2 separate regions of the Homo sapiens genome follow, and region 2 is linked to region 1. Evidence: promoter capture Hi-C in human tissues and cell types (Jung and others, 2019). All regions are on one chromosome and are shown on one strand. Each heading gives the region's core, a stretch centred on a gene start or on the middle of the fragment in contact. The rest is flanking DNA. Distances are from core to core; before and after follow the strand shown. Region 1 holds the start of KCNK15 (potassium two pore domain channel subfamily K member 15). Region 2 holds the start of PABPC1L (poly(A) binding protein cytoplasmic 1 like).

Evidence for each region. Contacts are between HindIII fragments. The study calls those that stand out against the background at their distance.
Region 2: a contact is called between the fragment with the promoter of PABPC1L here and the fragment with the promoter of KCNK15 in region 1, in 1 of the 25 tissues and cell types used here (mesendoderm cells).

Annotation. Positions count from the first base shown.
Region 1 is chr20:44,744,590-44,747,289 of GRCh38, forward strand. It overlaps KCNK15 (potassium two pore domain channel subfamily K member 15), which reads left to right and starts at 1,276. Exons shown (of 2, transcript NM_022358.4): 1 at 1,276-1,604. The coding sequence starts at 1,322. KCNK15-AS1 (KCNK15 and WISP2 antisense RNA 1) reads right to left here and starts at 1,638. Exons shown (of 5, transcript NR_132377.1): 1 at 1,376-1,638. The HindIII fragment of the contact is 14,439 bases long and covers 1-2,700 here.
Region 2 is chr20:44,908,761-44,911,460 of GRCh38, forward strand. It overlaps PABPC1L (poly(A) binding protein cytoplasmic 1 like), which reads left to right and starts at 1,300. Exons shown (of 15, transcript NM_001372179.1): 1 at 1,300-1,576. The coding sequence starts at 1,384. RefSeq lists a silencer at 1,154-1,483. The HindIII fragment of the contact is 11,748 bases long and covers 1-2,700 here.

The DNA of each region.
Region 1 (2,700 bases), core at 26-2,525:
GTTCTCTGCATTCAGCCGTCTGGTGGGGGAAAGAGATGGAGCACGTGTAGGGCAGGGTTTTATGGGCCAGGCCTGGAAGTGGCATATGTCACTTCTGCCCATGTTCCATGAGCTAAAGCTTGGTCACATAGACCCTGCTAAGTGCAAGAAAGGCTGGGCAATGTGGCCAGCTGGGCGCCCAACTCCACCTCCCCGGTGCATCCCGGATCCCCTCATTTCTCTCCATCTTCACACATTTGGACTACACTAGCCTTCGAACTGGCCTCCACTCCTAGCCACCATCCCTTTTCCCCATGACAGCCAGGGGCTCTTTAAAAAATATGAATCAGATCATTGTGGTGGTGTTGCGTGTGTGTTTGTTTGCCTGTGTTTGTAATACAGCCTTTCCATGGCTTTCAATAAACCCACATAAGGGCTTGTAAGACCCTGTGTGAAGTTGCCTCTTTGCCTTCCTTCTGCTCCCCCAAAGTATCTGCCCCCCAGTTCTCTGGGCTCCAGCGACACCGGCTCCTCTGCTATTCTGGCTGCCAAGTCATGCTCAGTTCTGTTTTAAGCACCACCTTAGATGGTGGGGTTCACCTTCCCCAAGAAACTATCCCTTTTCCTTCTTTCTCACTCCTGTCTTAAATTAGTTTCTTGTTTGTTAGCTGGCCCTCCTCACTAGGATATCACTTTTACTTACAACAGGAATGTTGTTTGCACCAGTAGGTGCTTGGTAAATATTTGTCAGAGGATTGACTGACTGAATGAAAGAAGGAAGGAAGGAGAGAAGGAAGGGAAGAAGAGATGAAGGGACGAAGGGAGGAAGGGAGGGACGGAGGGAGGAAGGGAGGGACGGAGGGAGGAAGGGAGGGACGGAGGGAGGAAGGATGGGAGGGAAGAAGGGAGGGAGGGATGGGGAAAGGAGTGAAAGGAAGGAAGGAAGGAAAGGAGGGAGGGAGGGAGGAAGGGAGGGGAGGGGGGAGGGGAGGGAGGGAAAAAGGAAGGAAGGAAGGACGGAAGGAAGGACGGAAGACTGGCACGAGGTCACAACATGAGTTAGTGGCGGGAACAGGACTTCTGCAGGCCCGGGGTTTGGGCCTTTGCTTCAGATCTCACTATTCACAGACACATGAACCCCGGGCAGGCGAGTGGGAGGCGGACAGGGGAGCGGTTCTTCCGGCCCCCACCCGTGGCGATCCCAGCCTCCAGGTTCCCGGCAGTCGCCCCGCCTCGCCCGTCACAACCCTGCCGCGTGGGGCCGGGGTTGGAGGGGGCGGAGCGCGCGGTCCGGGCACACGGAGCAGGTTGGGACCGCGGCGGGTACCGGGGCCGGGGCGCCATGCGGAGGCCGAGCGTGCGCGCGGCCGGGCTGGTCCTGTGCACCCTGTGTTACCTGCTGGTGGGCGCTGCTGTCTTCGACGCGCTCGAGTCCGAGGCGGAAAGCGGCCGCCAGCGACTGCTGGTCCAGAAGCGGGGCGCTCTCCGGAGGAAGTTCGGCTTCTCGGCCGAGGACTACCGCGAGCTGGAGCGCCTGGCGCTCCAGGCTGAGCCCCACCGCGCCGGCCGCCAGTGGAAGTTCCCCGGCTCCTTCTACTTCGCCATCACCGTCATCACTACCATCGGTGAGCCGCCCGGAGCCTCCCTCCGCGCCCGCTCCAGCCCCAGCCGTCCCGGGGCGCCTCTGGGTTTCGGTCCCACCTCTGCCCCCGCCCAGCTGAGCTACTTTGGACGGGTCATTTCGGCTCACCGAGCCTCCCTCATCTCCTTCGCCTCCCTCGTCTCCCTGGTCTCCTTTGCCCCCCTCTGCTGAATGGAGCTGTCAGCCCACGCAGGCAGGGACGGGAGGAATCAGTAAATCGAGTTTGCCAAAAGGCTGACCCAGGAGTGCTCAGAAAACGTCCAAGGGGCTTGGAGATAGGTGAAGCGGGGCTGGGAGACCAAGTGGCTGGATTTGCTTTTCCTTGCCTGGTTGCCTCACACTTGCTGTGTGACCTTAGACGAGTTGCTCAACCTCTCTGAGCCAGAGTTTTCTCTTCTGTAAAATAGTGTCGCTAATCGGCCTTATCTCAGGGCTGTGGTGAGAGTTATTATTCAGGAGACAGACTATGCACAGACAAGGCCTGTGCTAAAACATGACACATACAGAGCACTACAAAGAAAAGATCATTTTTTTATTATTGCAATTGTTATTGTTACCCCATGAGAATGGGGACCCAGTCTGTCTTAGGGACTGCTGTATGACCCGTGCCTAGCATGCAGTAGATGATCAATAAATACTTGTTAAAGGAATGACTGATAACCACAGGCTCTGGACTCTGCCCTCAGGGATGCAGAGCAGTTCCTTTGGAGCATCTGGACCACCAGCTGTTGCCATGACTACCATCTGGCTGGTACCTGCTGAGCCTAAACCTGGGGGAACAGGAAGGAGAGAAGTGGGCTCTGCAGGGCTCCAGGCTTGGTGCCAGCCACTCCCCAGGCTCCAGCTGTGAACGTCCCGGCACCCCCCCTGGGGCTTGGATCACCAGTCCGAAAGCCAGTGCCTTGGAGAAAGTTTCCCCATAATGCTCTTGCAAGTGAATATGAGCTGTGGTTTTTGCAGTGGAGTTAAAAGTATGAGTTCTGGAATCACAGAGACTGGAGTTCTGGTCTCATCTCTATTGCCACCTGCCTTCTCTGGCAATTGATTCCACCTGTCCAAGCCCTGGTTTCCCCAAAGGC
Region 2 (2,700 bases), core at 50-2,549, 160 kb after region 1:
GTCCTCTTTAGTGACTTCTAAGATTTGGTATGGACAGTTATTTTGCATTGTATTCGAGCCCACCATCCCTTCCCCATTTTTTAACTCTGAGATACAACCAAGCCAGTGAAATAGGTAACCTATGGTTGCATAAGTCTTGGTCATCACCAAGCTGGCGTCTCACCTGTCCTCACACTGTATGGTGGCCTGCAGAGCTGGTTCCTCACAGGATTTGCCCCTTCTGAAAACATCCACATTACCACAAGGAGAGAAAAATATCAGGATAGAGGGGTCTTTTTTAGCCCAAGATTAGAATTAGTGCTTCCTTGCTACTCTGAGGCTGGACAGCCAGATGGGCACCTTCTGTCCCTAGTTTAGGAGCTGTTCCACCTGTTGAAGCCACACTCAACCAAAAGTCAGTGGGGGCCTACCTGCTCTGTTGGATCAGTGAGACCAGGAAAGTCCTATCAGAGGAAAAGTGAAGTATTGGTGCTCAGTGGAGTAGTTGTTTTGTTTTTGTGTTGTTTTTAATGTCCCTATACCACAGATTGACGCTGCAAGCTCAGATTCACAGTCTTGCTCTGTTTAGGTCTTGCTCTGCTATTAGTTCCCAATTGTCCGCATTTAGGCTGAGCCACAAGTAACTCAGTGAACCTCCCTGGTGTAATGGATGTGTAATGGCTTAGCAGAGGGACAGGGAATATCCCAGGAAAAGGGGTCTTGGTAATATGAGCCAGTACCAAGAAAGGCCTTAGTGGTCTCCAGTTCTCATGTCTCAAAGCCATTTCCATCCTTGGTGCGAAACGGTGGGACTGGATCAGGCTCTCTGGAGGAAGACATCTTCAATGGAGCAGGGTAAAATTCTCTACACAAGCTTTGAAACAGTGGCCTGTTCGGAATTCCGTTTGTGTGTGAAACGCAAAAAGCGCGGTTTGGGTCTCCTTTCATTCTTGTCAGGAGGGAATCATTCCCATTTTACAGAGAAGGGAAACGGGTTCAGAAAGATGATCATCTGTTCCGGGGTTAGAACTCAGTCCCCTGCGTCCTTTCCGTCCCAGTCCTCGGCTCTTTCAAAAGAGCTGGGGGTTTTGAGAGCTCCACTCAAGTCCCAGCAGCCCTGCTCAAGGCCAGGTTGAAGGCTTTTTCCGCCTCCCAGGGCGGGGTCAGAGGTGTCCCCACCTGTAGCTTTTAGATCCCCAAGTGCTCGCAGGTGGGGGGTGGGCCCAGGAGGGATCCCGGGGGAGGGGCGTCCGAGCGCGCCCACGATTGGTGCGCAGGGACGCGGGGGCGGTAAAGGGAAGGGGCGGGCCCGCGCCCAGGAAGGAGGGCTTCCGCCCGGGTGAGCGCGGGGCTGCTGGGTGACCCGGCTCCTGCTTGCCCCGCAGCCCCGGCCCCCTGCCCACCATGAACGCCAGCGGTTCTGGCTACCCGCTTGCCTCGCTTTACGTGGGCGATCTGCACCCCGACGTGACCGAGGCCATGCTCTATGAGAAGTTCTCTCCCGCCGGCCCCATCCTGTCCATCCGCGTGTGCCGCGATGTAGCCACCCGGCGCTCGCTGGGCTACGCCTACATCAACTTCCAGCAGCCCGCGGACGGTGAGCCCCGGGGATGGGGCGGGAGGGGAAGGACCGACGGACAAGCAGGCGGACAGACAGAAGCCGGAACTGGGCCGCTTGCGCTTTCATCTTACACTTTGCAGCCGGGGAAACTGAGGCTCAAAGATAACAGGGCGTTGGCAGAGGCCTGGCCCCTGAGACGGGAATTGGTAATTAGTGTGGTTTACTGCTATTCCTCTACAGAGGAGAGAGATTAGGGTCGAGTGAAAACAGATACAGGCTTTGTGGGGGTGGGGGTGGGGGTCAGGCGGACCAGGGATAGAAGCCCAGCAGCCGTGTGACTCTGGGCAAGTTACTCGACCATTCTGAGCTTCAGATGCGTGTCTGGAAAATGGGGGTCCTAGCTGCCTTATAGAGTGCTTGTGAGGATGAGAGATTCAAAGCACCTGGTGAGGAAGATGCCCAAGGCAACACAGCTGGTGAGCAGGGGAGGCAGGAGAACCCAGCCTTGGGCTCAGGCCTTTCCCAGCGCGACGTGAGATCCACACTGGGCGCCTCTACCTGCACGGGCTCTGAAAAACCGCTGCCTCCAGGCCGCAAGGCCGCTTTCTCAGAGCTGATAGCATTGATTAGAGCTTGTCCGATGAGTTTGCCTGCACTTCTGTTGAGAGTGGAGAGGATGAGTGAGCTTGGGCAAGCCTTCACGCTCTGCACCTTTTCATCTGCAAAATGGGGCTAAGGCGTATTCTCCAATAACATAAAGAATGGAGAACTGCTGTCTATGCATAAAGAATGGTAACTGCTTGTTACCTCGTAAACGCTCTTAAGTGGTAACCTAAAATAAATAAATAAATAAATAAATAAATAAATAAATAAATAAATAAGGCCAGGCGCAGTGGCTCACGCCTGTAATCCCAGCATCTTAGGAGGCCGAGGTGGGCAGATCACTTGAGGTCAGGAGTTCGAGACCAGCCTGGCCAACATAGCGAAACCCTTTCTCTACTAAAAATACAAAAAATAGCTGGGCATGATGGCGGACGCCTGTAATCCCAACTGCTGGGGAGGCTGAGGCACGAGAATCGCTTGAATCCGGGAGGCAGAGGTTGCAGTGAGCCGAGACTGCGCCATTGCACTCCAGCCCGGGCAACAGAGCGAGACTCCAT